Regions from separate parts of the Homo sapiens genome. Here all the other regions are linked to region 4. The links are contacts of gene promoters, found by promoter capture Hi-C in blood cells and fetal thymus (Javierre and others, 2016). All regions are on one chromosome and are shown on one strand. Each heading gives the region's core, a stretch centred on a gene start or on the middle of the fragment in contact. The rest is flanking DNA. Distances are from core to core; before and after follow the strand shown. Region 1 overlaps SS18 (SS18 subunit of BAF chromatin remodeling complex). Region 2 overlaps SS18 (SS18 subunit of BAF chromatin remodeling complex). Region 3 overlaps SS18 (SS18 subunit of BAF chromatin remodeling complex). Region 4 holds the start of TAF4B (TATA-box binding protein associated factor 4b).

Region 1 (3,293 bases), core at 752-3,251, 150 kb after region 4:
AAGTTTTATGATTTTTCCCTGTAGATGGTTTGCACATCTCTCATTGGGCTTATTGCTAGATATTTAATACTTTATATTTTTTGAGGCCATTTTAAATCGAATCTTTGTCTTTTAAGTTTTATTTTCTAGCTGCATTTGCTGTTTACATGGAAATGCAATTAATTTGAATCTCACATTCTTGTTCAGCTCTTGCTTCTGAGTTTTTCTGTAGATGCTTTCAGTTTTCTGTATTCATGATCATATCATTTGTGAATAATCAGTTTTGTTTCTTTCTTGTCAATCCTTACACCTTTTATTTCTTTTTCTTGCCTTACTTCTCTGGCTATGACCTCCATTACATTCCTGAATAGAAGTGGTGATAGAGGACATCCTTGTCTTGTTCCTGATCTCAAAGGGAAAGCTTTCACTGTTTGACCATTAAGTATGATGTTTGCTGTAGTGTTTCATAGATAACTTGTCAGATTAAGGAAGCTCCTTTCTGTTTCTGATGTGCTAAGTAAAAATTTATATGTTGAATGGATGTTAAATTTTATCAAGTACTTTTATTGCATCGAATGAGATGATTATAAGACTTTTTCTTCTTTAATCTGTTAATGTGGTAAAATATACTGATATACTTTTAATGCTCAGTCAGTCTTGCATTCTTGTAATTAACCTACTTGTTGATGACCCACTTGGTCATGATGTTTTTAAAGAAATTGCGATATTCAGTTTGTTAAAATTTTGGTTAGGATTTTTGCATCTTTGTTTGTGAGTGTGATTGACCTGTAATTTTTCTTTCTTATAATGCCTTCGTCTGGTTTTTATTTTGAGGCTATGCTAGCTTTATAAAAGGAGCTGGAGAATTTTCTACTTTTTCTTATCCAGAAGAATTTACATAATATTTCTATTTCTTTGTTAAATGATTGGTACAATTCTTTAGAAAAGCCATCTGAATCTGAAGTTTTCTTTGCAAGGAAGTTTTTATTTACTTACTTCTTTAATTGTTATAGGACAATTTCTATATTTTATAAATTGCCTATTTTGGTAAGTTGTGGTTTTTAGCATTTTAATAAATTTGAACATTAATTAGCATGAAAATAAAGTAAAAGCTCTTGAAATAATCTTATTTTCCTAATGTCAACACTGTCTGTAGTGATAATTTTCTTTTTAATGTCATTATTTGTGACTTCTGCTTTGAAATATTTTTTGATCATTCTTGCCAGATGTTTATTATGGGTTTTTTAAGTCTTTTCAAAGAATCAACTTTTGGTTTTGATTGTGCTCTGTTGCAGCATTTTTCAAACCTTTTGGTCTCAGAACCCTGTTACATTCTTAAAAATTACTGAGGACTTAAAAGAACTTGATGTAGGTTATATTGTTAATATAAATTATAAATTTTTCTCAGTTGTGAAATTAAAACAAATCTAAAAAATTTGTTAAAAATAATAAACTTATTGCATGTTAATATAAATAACATTCTTTAAAGGAAAAATAACTATCTTTGTGAGATGAATGGCATCATGTTACGTTTTTGCAAGTTTCTGTTAAATGTCTGGCTTAATAGAAGACACTATATTTTCACATCTACTTCTGCATTCAGTCTATTGTAGTATCTTGTTTCGGTTGTAGCAGAAAATGCAGTCTCACACAGACATGTAGTTAGAAAGGGGAAGAATATTTTAATAGCCTTTTCAGATTTTTGGGGATAACCTTGTTTGATATTACAGCAGAACTCAGTAAGTTTTTTTTTTTTTTTAAGGTTAGTTGTGGTGTGGAATCTTAAATTGTATCATTACATTTTTCTTACTCTGGTACATTTAAGCCCATTGGTCTTTATTACACTTTGAATAGATTTTTACTCATGTATAATTTTATAACATCATGCTTTGGTGATTTGGAAAGTATAAGTTTACTGAGTTAAACAGTTCTTCCAAACATTAACATTTTTCTGTGTGATACCAAAGACTACATTGGTTAAAATCACCTCTAATCTCATCAGAAAAGTGCCTAAGTATGGGGATGCTGTCAAGCTCAAGGTCGTAGATAAGTTTGCACATTCCAAGTTCTTGCTTGGAAATTCAAATGTGATCTTGGCAACAAATGTTATTAGTTGATTTTCTTGCTCACTATGTTTGTTTTTGAGAAAATGTCTGCCAAATACCCATGCCTAGATAAATACAGTTAACAATTGTTCTTTCAAGTAAAAATGGTATTCAGTGAAAACGGTGCCTAGTTCAGCTGGCAACTCAATCACAAACTGCTTTTTCTTGATTATTTTACTTTGTGACAGATAATGTTTATTATTTTCCCATTTTGTCACTGAATATTTATTTACAAGACATGGAGAATTTACAAAATAATTTTTACTGCTTCATCAAGCACATTTTTAACTGAAACTATCTTTTTCTTTCTTCAACTGCAAGTGTGTGGCAGCCAGTAATACATTGACTAATAATAGTTTGATGTCATTGCCTTGATTCATAATGAGGTTCCAGCAATTATATCCACTATTGCTTTTGTACCATCATTATAAATGTGCACTTAGCATAAAAGGCAAACATCATCTTATGGAAATAGTTTTGCCCTTGGGCACCTCATGTATGTTTTTGTTTATGATTAATTTCTGATCTTTATGATTTTCTCCCTTTTACTTTCTTTTGGTATATTTTTTTCTGTTCTTCTGAGTTTTAGATGAATGCCTCTTTCATCAATTTTCACCTTTCTAAGGATGCATTTAAAATGGACATAAGTTTTCCTCTAATCATAGTTCTGATATGTAGTATATTCATATTTATTTAATTCCAAATATTTTCTAATTTTCATAATTATTTTTTAATGCATTGGTTGATAAAAATACATTTCTTAATTTCCAAACATGGATATTTTATTTTCTTGATTTCTGGCTTTATTGCATTGTGGTTAAATAACATTTTACGATTTGAGTTCTTTGGAATTCCTTGAGATTTGTTTCAAGGTCCAGCATATGGTCAGTTTTTACAGATGTTTCATGTGTATTTAAAAAAAATATGTATTGTTTAGCCACTGAGAGCAGAGTTCTATATATGTCTATTAGGTTAGGTCAAGTGTGTTAATCTTGTTTGAATCCTCTGTAGCCTTAATGATTGTTGTTTTTTTAGTCTTTCCAATGTTTTGTTTGTTTGTTCTATCGATTACTGAGAGATGTATGTTTAAAATGTACAAGTCAAATTGTGGACTGACTGATTTTCCTTTTAGCTCTTTTAAGGTTTTTTTTTTTTTTTTTTTTTTTTTTGAGACGGAGTCTCGCTCTGTTGCCCAGGCTGGAGTGCAGT
Region 2 (3,067 bases), core at 527-3,026, 200 kb after region 4:
ATTAGTTGCTAGTATATACAAATACAGCTTATTTTTGTGTATTGATATTTTATCAAAACTATAACTTTACTAAAATCACATCTAGTAGTGTTTTTGTAGATTTCATTGAATATTCAAACATAGAAATCATGTTGTCTGTGAATAAAGACAGTCTCCTTCCTTTTCAATCTGAATGCTCCCCCATGTTCCTTCCCCACCCTCCTGCTTGCCTCAACTAGAAACTCCAATACCATGTTAAATAAAAATGGTGAGAGTAGACATCTTTTGTCTTGTTCCTGATCTTAGAGAGAAAGTTGTCATTTTTCATCCTTATATAAGATGTTCATGTAGGGTTTTTTGTAGATGTCCTTTATCAGGTGTTATATTTCTAGTTTGCTGAGAATTTTTATTGGGAATGAATGTTGAATTTTGTCACATGATTTTTCCTTATCTATTGAGGGAATTATGGTTTTCCTTCTTTAGTTTGCTAATTTTTGAATTACATTGTTTGAGTTTCAAATGTGAACCAACTTCATACCTGGGATAAAATCTATTTGGTCATGATATATATCCTTTTTATATATTGGGTTGATTAGCTAAAATTTTGTTAAGAATTTCTGCATCTGCATCGCTTGAGTCCAGGAGTTCAAGACCAGTCTGGGCAACAAAGCAAGACCCCCCACCTCTATAAAAATCTAGCCAGTCATGGTGGCATATGCCTGTAGTCCCAGTCAGTTGTGTCCTGACATAACAGTGGTTCAACTTAGGTTTTTTGACTTCACAATGCTGTGAAAAGTGATGTGTATTTAGTAGAAATTCTACTTCCAGTAACTGTACAATCATTCTGTTTTATATTTTCAGTGCAGTGTTTAATAAATTACATGAGGTATGCAAAACTTAGGATATTTTCAGCTTACAGTGGGTTAATTGGGACATAACCCCATGGCAAGTCAAGGAACATCTGTGTTTTCATGACAAATTTTGGAATCTGTTTTTTTTTTTTCTTGTAACATGTTTGTCTGGTTTTGTTACTGAGGTAGCACTGGTTTCATAGAGTGAGTTGGGAAGAATTTCCTCCCTTCAGAAAATTGGCATTATTCTTTCTAAAATGTTTGGTGCAAAGTTACCAGTGAAGCCATCTGGGTTTGTAGTTTTTTTTGTGAGAAATTTTTAAATTATAAATTTAATTTATGAAATATAGGGGGTATTCAGGTTATCTATTTTTTTCTTGAGTAAATGTTTTGTGTGTTTTTCATTGGAGTTGTCCATTTTATCTGTGTTGTTGAATAATTTCTTTATCATCGCTCAATATCTCCATAATCTGTAGTGATATTACCTCTCTCATTTCTGATATTAATAATTTGTGTCTTCTCTCTTTGTCCTCATTTATCTGGCTAGTTTTAATCTACCTATTCATTTTTCTCAAAAAGCAGCTCGATTTTATTTATTGCCTTTTGCCCATTTGCTTTTCTGTTTCTTTGATTTCTGCCCAGAACTTTATTATTTCTTTTTTTCTGCTTACTTGGGTTTTATTTGTTCTTATTTTTCCAGTTTCTTAAGATTGAAGTTGTAGTCCCATTGATTTAAGAACTGTCTTTCTTTCTAATATAGATGTTTCTTTCTAAGTATTCTTAAACTGCATCTGATGCTGTTATTTTTAATCAGTTCAAAATACATCCTGGTTTCACTTTTTATTTCTTTTTTGACCCACAACACATCAGAAGTGTGCAATTTCATTTTCAAATATTTGGAGATTTTCAAATCTTTCTGATGAATTTACTCCTTTACCATTATCAAATAACTGTCTTTATCCCTGCCAATATTTTTTGCTCTGAAATCTAGTTTGTCTAGTATCAATACTGCAATACCACTTTTCTTTTGATTAGTATTAGAATAATAATTTTTCATCCTTTAACATATTTGTTTTTATATTTAAATTATATTTCAAGTAGACAGCATATGTAGTCAGTCGGATCTTGCTTTTTTTAAATCCAGCCTGCCAATTGCTGCCTTTAAATTGGGGTTTTTGACATGTTTAGTGTGATTATGGATATGATTAAGTATATCATCTTTATTTTTTCTATTTGTCACATCTGGTTTTTGTTCTCCTTTTCCTCTTTTTCTGCCTTCCTTTGATTTTTCTCCTCTTTTTAACAAAAACAGCTTTATTGAGATATAAATCACATATCATACAAGTCACCATTCTAAAGTATACCATTCAGTGGTTTTTAAGCATATTCAAAAAGGTAGACTGGGGGTGGTGGCTCACGCCTATAATTACAGCACTTTGGGAAGCTAAGGCAGGAGGATTGCTTGAGCCCAGGAGTTGAAGACCAACCTGGGCAACAAAGCGAGACCCCCACCTCTACAAAAAACTAGCCAGGCATGATGGCATGTGCCTGTAGTCCCAGCTCTTCAGGAGGCTGAGGCAGAAGATTGCATGAACCCAGGAGGTCGAGGCTGCAGTAAGTTGTGATTGTGTCACTATACTCCAGGCTGAGTGACAGAGCTAATATCCTGTCCCCCCAAAAAAGTGCAGCCATCACCACCCTCTAATTTTAAAACATTTTCACCAGCCTGATAAACTGTATACCTATTAGCAGTCACTCCTCATTCCCCTTTAACTACTCAGCCTTAAATACTTAAATACTCATTCTGTAATTTCGTTTTCAAATATTTGGAGATTTTCCAGCAACAGTAGTTTACTTTCTATCTCTATAGATTTGCCTATTCAGTACATTTAAGATAAATGGAATCATACAATATGTGGAGTTTTGTGACTGGTGTTTTGTTTTTTTTACTTAAAATAATATTTTCAAGGTTCGTCTGTGTAGCGTGTATCAGTGTCTTCAAGTGATAGTATGCCTATACATAGTGTAAGAACCTTAAGGTAGTCTGCTTTTCTTCTCTTTGTGTTATTGTTACAAATTTTACTTCTGTATACGTTATAAACCCCACAGTGTATTGAATTTATTTTTGTCTAAAAAAATCAGTTAAAGATACTTAAATAATAAGGAAAAAAAAATTTTTAAATTGACCCATGTAGTTACCGTTTTTGGTACTCTTCATTATTTATGTATGGATTCAT
Region 3 (3,387 bases), core at 195-2,694, 180 kb after region 4:
TTGATTAATCGCTTGTCCATGTGGTTGATCTCAGTCTCCAATCTCGATCCTTTACCCCCCTGCTTGGCCCAAAACCCCCATCCAGGATGAAAGGAGCTACAGGAAATCCCAATTAAGTAAATTTACTAAATTTTTCTGATTTTTTTCTGATTTTAGTAATCAGTAAATATTTCTGATTATTAAAATAACTGATGTTAAATTTGAAAAATCTTGGCCAGGTGTGGTGGCTCATGCTTGTAATCCCAGCACTTTGGGATGCCGAGGTGGGTGGATCACCTGAGGTCAGGAGTTTGAGACCAACCTGGCCAACATAATGAAACCCTGTCTCTACTAAAAATACAAAAATTAGCCGGACGTGGTGGTGTGCAACTGCAGTCTCAGCTTCTCGGGTGGCTGAGGCAGGAGAATCGCTTGAACCTGGGAGGCGGAGGTTGCAGTCAGCCGAGATTGTACCATGCACTCCAGCCTGGGTGACAGAGCAAGACTCCGTCTCAAAAAAAAAAAAAATCTAAAAAAATATGAAAAGCATACAACATAAAATAAAAAACACGTCTTACTTCACTATATTTTAAATTATTAGGCAAATTCACTTAAGTATAGTAGCCTATACTTAGAATCCTTTAAGCAGTACTACTTATAATTACATAATTTTAAAAAATATGTGTTTAATTATTTTTCTTTAGACTCTGAGTTCTATGAAGTGAAGAACTGTGTCTTATTCTGTTCACTGCTTTATCCTATTTGTTGACTGATTAGCTAGATAGGTATCCTCTTGCTGTAAGTGTCCCCTGAGGGACAAAACTGCCCACAGTTGAGAATAACCAGCTTGAAGAAATGGTTAGTATGAATAACTGTGTGTAAAGATGGTCTGTGTCACTAAAGAAACAAATGACAATAACAAAATTGTTATTGATATTATTTTTAATACCTTTTAAAACTTTTATGAGATTTTTTCTAAAGTTCTAATGTTATGAAAGATTTTGTATCTTTTAATGAGCTGTTGTTCTCTTTACTTGCTAGAATCATGTTTCCATTTTTTCATTGGTTGCTGGAAACTCAGCTAAATTTGTGCTTGGCTGCAGTGACCTTACTGAACTGGGCTAGTCATCCTACATTTTCTTACTTGCTCTTGTTCTTTTATCCTTGATATTGTATCTAAACATCTTATTAACTACTAAAAATTCTTGATGTGGACAGGTGTATAATTTAGGTAAGTAAAGAATCCTATTCTTTTTAAGCAGCTATTTAAGCAGATAGTAAGTTAGCTAATTGAGTTTTTTGGAATACAGGGATTCTTGCAAATAAATTATTAGAAATAACTCCAAATAAGAGCTATAATTGGGTTAGAGATTAAATGGTTAAGGAACAAATAGTAAAATGTAAGCAGTAAATGATGAAATATGAATGTGAAAATAGGCCTGAGGAGGGTATTATCTATGGAGTTTCATGGTCTTAAGATAGGTGGGGTGAAGAAATTTCTTATATTTTAAGGTTTTTATATTACAGTGATAGAGATATATTATACAGAACTCTTTTCATGGGAGATAGTGGCATGGGAAAAGTACAATTTGAATTTGGAGAGGAAGTACACATAGTGATTAAGAGCACGGGCTTTGGACCATTTAGTAGCTATGCTACTTTAGAGCCTTTCGTAGCAGTACAGCTTTGGGTAAGGTCCTTGATGTTTGTGAGCCTTAAAATGTTGTTGTCTGTGAAGAAGTCGATAATAATACTACCCGTTTCATAGGGCTTTGGGGAAGAGAAATAATACAGGTAAAGCTATTAGCTTAGTGCCTGGCTAATAATAAGTGTTCATTAAATGTTAGCTGTCATTTTAAACAATATTATTTAAAATAATTTGTAGATTAATGATACAATTTTTATAAAATTTTAGTGTATTGGTTTGTATCTGAGGATGTGAAATACATGTGTATATGTATGAATGTTCTATATATATAGAATATTTGTAAAATTACATTATTCAGAATTGACAGATTAAAACAATGTTTTCCTTATAGTTAAGTATTTAAAAATTATTTTTTTCAGTCTACCTAATTGTGTGTCACTATAGACAGTGACAGTGCTCATCACATCTCTATATTACCATGGCTCCTAGCCTGGGGTGTTGTACCTAATAAGTACTCAATAAATTTGATCCTTGACTTACTCTTCAAAAGAAAATTCTTTTTTTTTTTTTTTGACCACTGACTTAAGATAAAATTAAGTATTAACCATCTCATTGGAGAAAAGAATGCCAATAATATAAAATATGGTAATTTGGGAGGTTTTTACATGTGTTTAAAATAAAGGATGTTATTTTCATAGAATATCTATTAGAATATAAAACTCAAAATGGGAAGAAATAATGTGCTAATGATAAGTGTTTGTTATATGCCCTTGCAAAACACTTGCAAAAATATATTCTAGGTAATTAAGACATCAGTAGGGTCTTTGCATATGTATTATCACGCTTTGTAGTGCGTCTTAACATCAAAATTGTTTATGTAAAAGATGAAGAATAACCTTAAAGTCTGTAGTAATGTATGATACCATTGTTTGCAGAAAATGGTTGTAGAAGATGCATTTTATAATGCTATTTCACTCTGCAGTACAAATTTTTAGAACATATTTTGGGGTAACCTTTTGAGTTTGCTTCTCTTAGTTTCATTAGTATCTCAAGAGATAATATACATTGCCAGTGTAGCATAATTTCATTATCCTAAGAAGGAAAATAATATACTTCCTAAACAATCAGAATTGAAGTCATAGTCATAATTTTTTTTTTCTTTAATGGATAAGGCTTCGAGGAAAATTATGAAATGTATTGTGCTTTAGTAGTGTTAGCTGACTGCATTCTCTCTGTGGTTTAGGCTTGATCATGAATGATGTTGGGATCCTCTGAGGGAGAGAAGTGACAGTAAAAGAAGGGTAGTAATTGAGCTCTTTGGGATTGGAACTGCTCACAGTCCCAAAAGATAAAGCACAAGTGGCATGGTCTTTTCTATCTAGGGCTTAAGCTACAATTACTTTGCTTTCCTTTAGAGCAAGGTTTAGTGTTTTGTTATGTATCTTTTTGGATTTTTTTTTCTTTTGGCTATTGTGGTTTTGCTTTCTTTTTGTTTCTAATATTATAGGTTTTAGTTATATAGTTACCTTCTGTTAAGACAAGAGGTCTTTAGACAGTGTTGGAGAAGAAAAGGCAAAACCTTCATTTACTGAAAATGAATTACATAAATGTCCGATCAGGTTACCTATTAAATTATGAATGTTAGTGTTTAATAGTTTAGTATATGCAACATATATTTGAAAATTATAACTGCTATTAAACTAGTGTTTTGGAACTTTTTTGTTGCAAATTATTTGCTTCGGAACTACTGAATTTGTTTC
Region 4 (3,363 bases), core at 625-3,124:
TTAGGGGATATAGAATCTTTTGAATCAATGCTTCCCCTTTTTTACCATCTTTGCAGTTCAGAGTTCCAATTACTGCTAAACAAAATTAACAGAAAGCAAACTCCAAGAGACTTTCAGTAAAGAAAGGCTGAACACCCCAAAATCATTCAGCATATTTACAATATGTAAATTATCACAAAGCAAAACCTTTATACAAACCATGAAATACAGCCCAATAGAGTAAAAAGCCCTAGGATAGAAAGTAGTGAAAGACTCATTAACAGTAGCGTTGACACATGGCTTCAATTGCAACTGTAACAATTGCATGACTGATCTGTTTGTCAACTGTGGCACGTGTTCCCAGTCAGGGGTTCTGCTAATTGAAAGTTAGAATCATAAGACATTTAAAGATTGTGCAGGAACAGCATTATTCGTACTTGGTACTAGAAAGCAGTAAACCGATTCTGACTTGGTTAAATTTAAAAATCTCTTTCAGTTGTAATACACAAGAACTTCACTGTTAGGCCGTACGCGGTGGCTCACGCCTGTAATCCCAGCACTTTGGGAGGCCGAGGCGGGAGGATCGATTGGGCCCAGGAGTTCGACGTCGGTGAGCCATGATCGTGTCACTGCACTCCAGACTGGGCGACAGAGCGAAACCATACCTCATTCGTTCATTCATTCATTCATAATTAATAAAATAAGTACAACGCACTTCTACATAATCTAAGCGTATGGAAATCCACGGTATAAACCGGTCCATCCTCCACATGGAAATTAACTTCGGCTATATTATCTCCTCCACCTAAGAGCCAGTGCCTGAAAGCCCCCCCGAATACGCTGATGTAGCTTTTTACTGTATCACTTAGGTGAAAAGATTCTTTCCTTAAATATGAAAAGAAAAACTATGTAGTAATGACACAAAAAGAATATGTTAACTGTAAAGTCAAGATTATGAAATGTTCCCGTGGCTCAGTTTTTTTAGGAGCAATCTGGAGCTGCGAATTTTCCCGTCGCCGCCAGCTGGACCGACAGACAAGGCTGGAAAGGGTTATCAACATACCTGGAGGAAGCTGCAAATTAGCAGGAAACTGGATTGTCGTGGTGTTGGGGGCTTTCACGGCGACTATCTGAGGAGCAGGCAGCCTAGGGCCGCTGCTGACTTTAGGAGGGGCGCTGACCGGAGCCACTTTGGTCACCAGGGTCCCCACGGGGGACCGCAGGGGCTGGGACGCCGTGGGCTCCACGCAGACGCTGACAGGAGCCTTAGTCACGGCGCCCAGGGCCACCGGAGTGCTCTCCACCCGCACCGGCAGCGCCCCGGCCGGGGCCATGGTCACGGTCCCCGAGGCGCTCACAGCAGCCGGGGGAGCGGCGCCGGCGGGTTCGGTGAGGCCGGCGGGCATCCCCCAGGGGCTCAGCGGCAGCTTTGGCGCTGCGGTTCCGGGAGCAGAGGTGAGGGGAGGCTTGGCGCGCGGCAGCCGACTCCGGTGCGGTTCGGGTTCCACAGCATCGCTGGGGAGAGGCGCGGGGGCCGCAGCAGCGAAGTCAGTGACGGGCGCCCGCTGCACGGCAGGACACGCGCGTCCCGGACCTTCCTCTCGTCCGCGCGAGCCTGGGCTGCCCCCGGAGCGACACCCGCCCGACCTCTCGCAGCTTCCTCAGCGGCGCTCACACGTGCGCTGCCTCAGCCCTGCGCCTCAGGCTCGGGTCCCGCTGCGGGGGAGCCTGGACTTGCGGCTCCCGGAAGGTCGTCGCTCACACCTCGAGCCTAACTGCGCAGCTGCTCCCCCGCCAGAAATTTCAAAACTACGAACCCCGAGTGCCCACAGCCCCCTACGCGCGATTGGCACGGCCCCGCCGCGCGGCCACGCCAGCCATGTTTATATAGCCACGCGGAGACCTCGCGCACGCGCCCAGGCCGCCGCCACCGCCCCGGGTTTCCCCGGGATCCGGCCGCGTGATTGGCCAAGGAGCGGAGCCGCGCCCGTGACGTCACTGGGGACGGCTCCAGGGAGCGTTAAAATCTTCCCCAGAATCGCCAGCAAGGAGGGGCGATGCCAGAAACCTATCACGTGGGAGGGGCAAGCTGCACTTGGAAAACTGCGGCATCCGTGTTCCTCTCCTTGTGTCCCCTGTAGTGTGTTCCTCGAAAAGCCAGCACTAGACTATCTCCAGGATTCTATTTTTTAAGGAGAAAATGGGGAGGACTGATTTCCGAGAAGAGTGACTCAATAAGAATTCAATCACGCATTTTCAGTGTTTTTCTCTGCTGTCTTCACACTGAAGCGTTGCTAAAATTCGCAGTTAGAATTGACATTGTAAAAATTAAAATGGCGTATAGTTTTATAGTCTGTGAGATGTGCCTATTTTCATATTTTAGAGTTAAACTGCCTAAAATCTTAAATGGAAAATCGTTTCTTCTTTGGTGCTGCTATAGGTGTCTCTATCACCTCTAAACATTAAAATTGTATGTCTGTCTTCTGAAAAACTTAATGCCTTTTGATATCTATATAATTAGATTCTAGCACTTAGATATTAAGCGTGATCCTAGATATTATCTGGATAAATAAAAGGTGTTGAGTGAATCGATATGAAAAAACTTGCCTGTTTGTAATGCAGTCAGAGAAGATGCCTTAATTTCAAGCTAAAGTCATTATATTGTATGTTTGTAGGAACCAACACTGCACTGAAAGGCGATTTTACAAGTAGGCAGATGCTATGATCTGAATGTTGTGGTGTTTTGTTTTGTTTTGTTTTGTTTTGTTTTGTTTTGGAAACAGGATCTAACTCTGTCACCCAGGCTGGAGTGCAGTGGCACCATTGGCTCATTGCAGCCTCCACCTCCTGGGCTCAAGTGATCATCCTACCCTCCTACCTCAGATTCCCGAGTAGCTGGAACCACAGGGGAGCGGCACTATGCCTAGCAAAAACGGGATCTCGTTATATTGTCCAGGCTGGTCTCCAATTCCTGAGCTCCCGCCTGGGCCTCCCAAAGTGCTAGGATTATACCCCCAACTGAGTGTTAAAATGCTAAAGCTGGAGTTGATAATATTAGAAGGTTGGGCCTTTGAAAGGTGATTAGATCATAAGGGTGGAGCCCTCATGAATGGGATTCCATTCAGGACAAATCATGTTAAAGTGATGAATATGTTAACTTGATTTAATTATTTCACGACACATACAAATGTAACATGATACCTCATAAATACATACAATTATTATTTGTTAGTTAAATACATTAAATAAATAATTTTTTTAAAAAAAGAAACCTCAGAAAGATCCCTCACCCCTTCCAGCAAGTGAGGTTATGGTAAAAAGACTGCTGTCTAGAAAGTAGACTCTCATCAGATACCACATCTGCCTTGATCTTGAACTTCCCAA

What was found. Contacts are between HindIII fragments. The CHiCAGO score rates a contact against its expected background, and 5 or more counts as called.
Region 1: a fragment that was not itself captured here is called in contact with the fragment with the promoter of TAF4B in region 4 in 1 of 17 cell types (non-activated CD4 T cells); the score reaches 5.6 in non-activated CD4 T cells.
Region 2: a contact is called between a fragment that was not itself captured here and the fragment with the promoter of TAF4B in region 4, in 1 of 17 cell types (total CD4 T cells). The highest score is 5.5, in total CD4 T cells.
Region 3: a contact is called between a fragment that was not itself captured here and the fragment with the promoter of TAF4B in region 4, in 1 of 17 cell types (non-activated CD4 T cells). The highest score is 6.5, in non-activated CD4 T cells.

What each region holds. Positions count from the first base shown.
Region 1 is chr18:26,072,757-26,076,049 of GRCh38, reverse strand. The region is part of intron 3 of SS18 (SS18 subunit of BAF chromatin remodeling complex); the gene reads left to right. Among named protein-coding and RNA genes, the nearest start is that of SS18, 16 kb to the left of the region's middle. The HindIII fragment of the contact is 3,197 bases long and covers 403-3,293 here.
Region 2 is chr18:26,023,778-26,026,844 of GRCh38, reverse strand. All of the region lies in intron 10 of SS18 (SS18 subunit of BAF chromatin remodeling complex), which reads left to right. Among named protein-coding and RNA genes, the nearest start is that of SS18, 65 kb to the left of the region's middle. The HindIII fragment of the contact is 3,991 bases long and covers 1-3,067 here.
Region 3 is chr18:26,041,449-26,044,835 of GRCh38, reverse strand. The region is part of intron 5 of SS18 (SS18 subunit of BAF chromatin remodeling complex); the gene reads left to right. Among named protein-coding and RNA genes, the nearest start is that of SS18, 47 kb to the left of the region's middle. The HindIII fragment of the contact is 6,803 bases long and covers 1-3,387 here.
Region 4 is chr18:26,224,956-26,228,318 of GRCh38, reverse strand. TAF4B (TATA-box binding protein associated factor 4b) reads right to left here and starts at 1,874. Exons shown (of 15, transcript NM_005640.3): 1 at 1,043-1,874. The coding sequence starts at 1,385. RefSeq lists a silencer at 1,235-1,394 and enhancers at 2,045-2,144, 2,175-2,244. The HindIII fragment of the contact is 8,704 bases long and covers 1-3,363 here.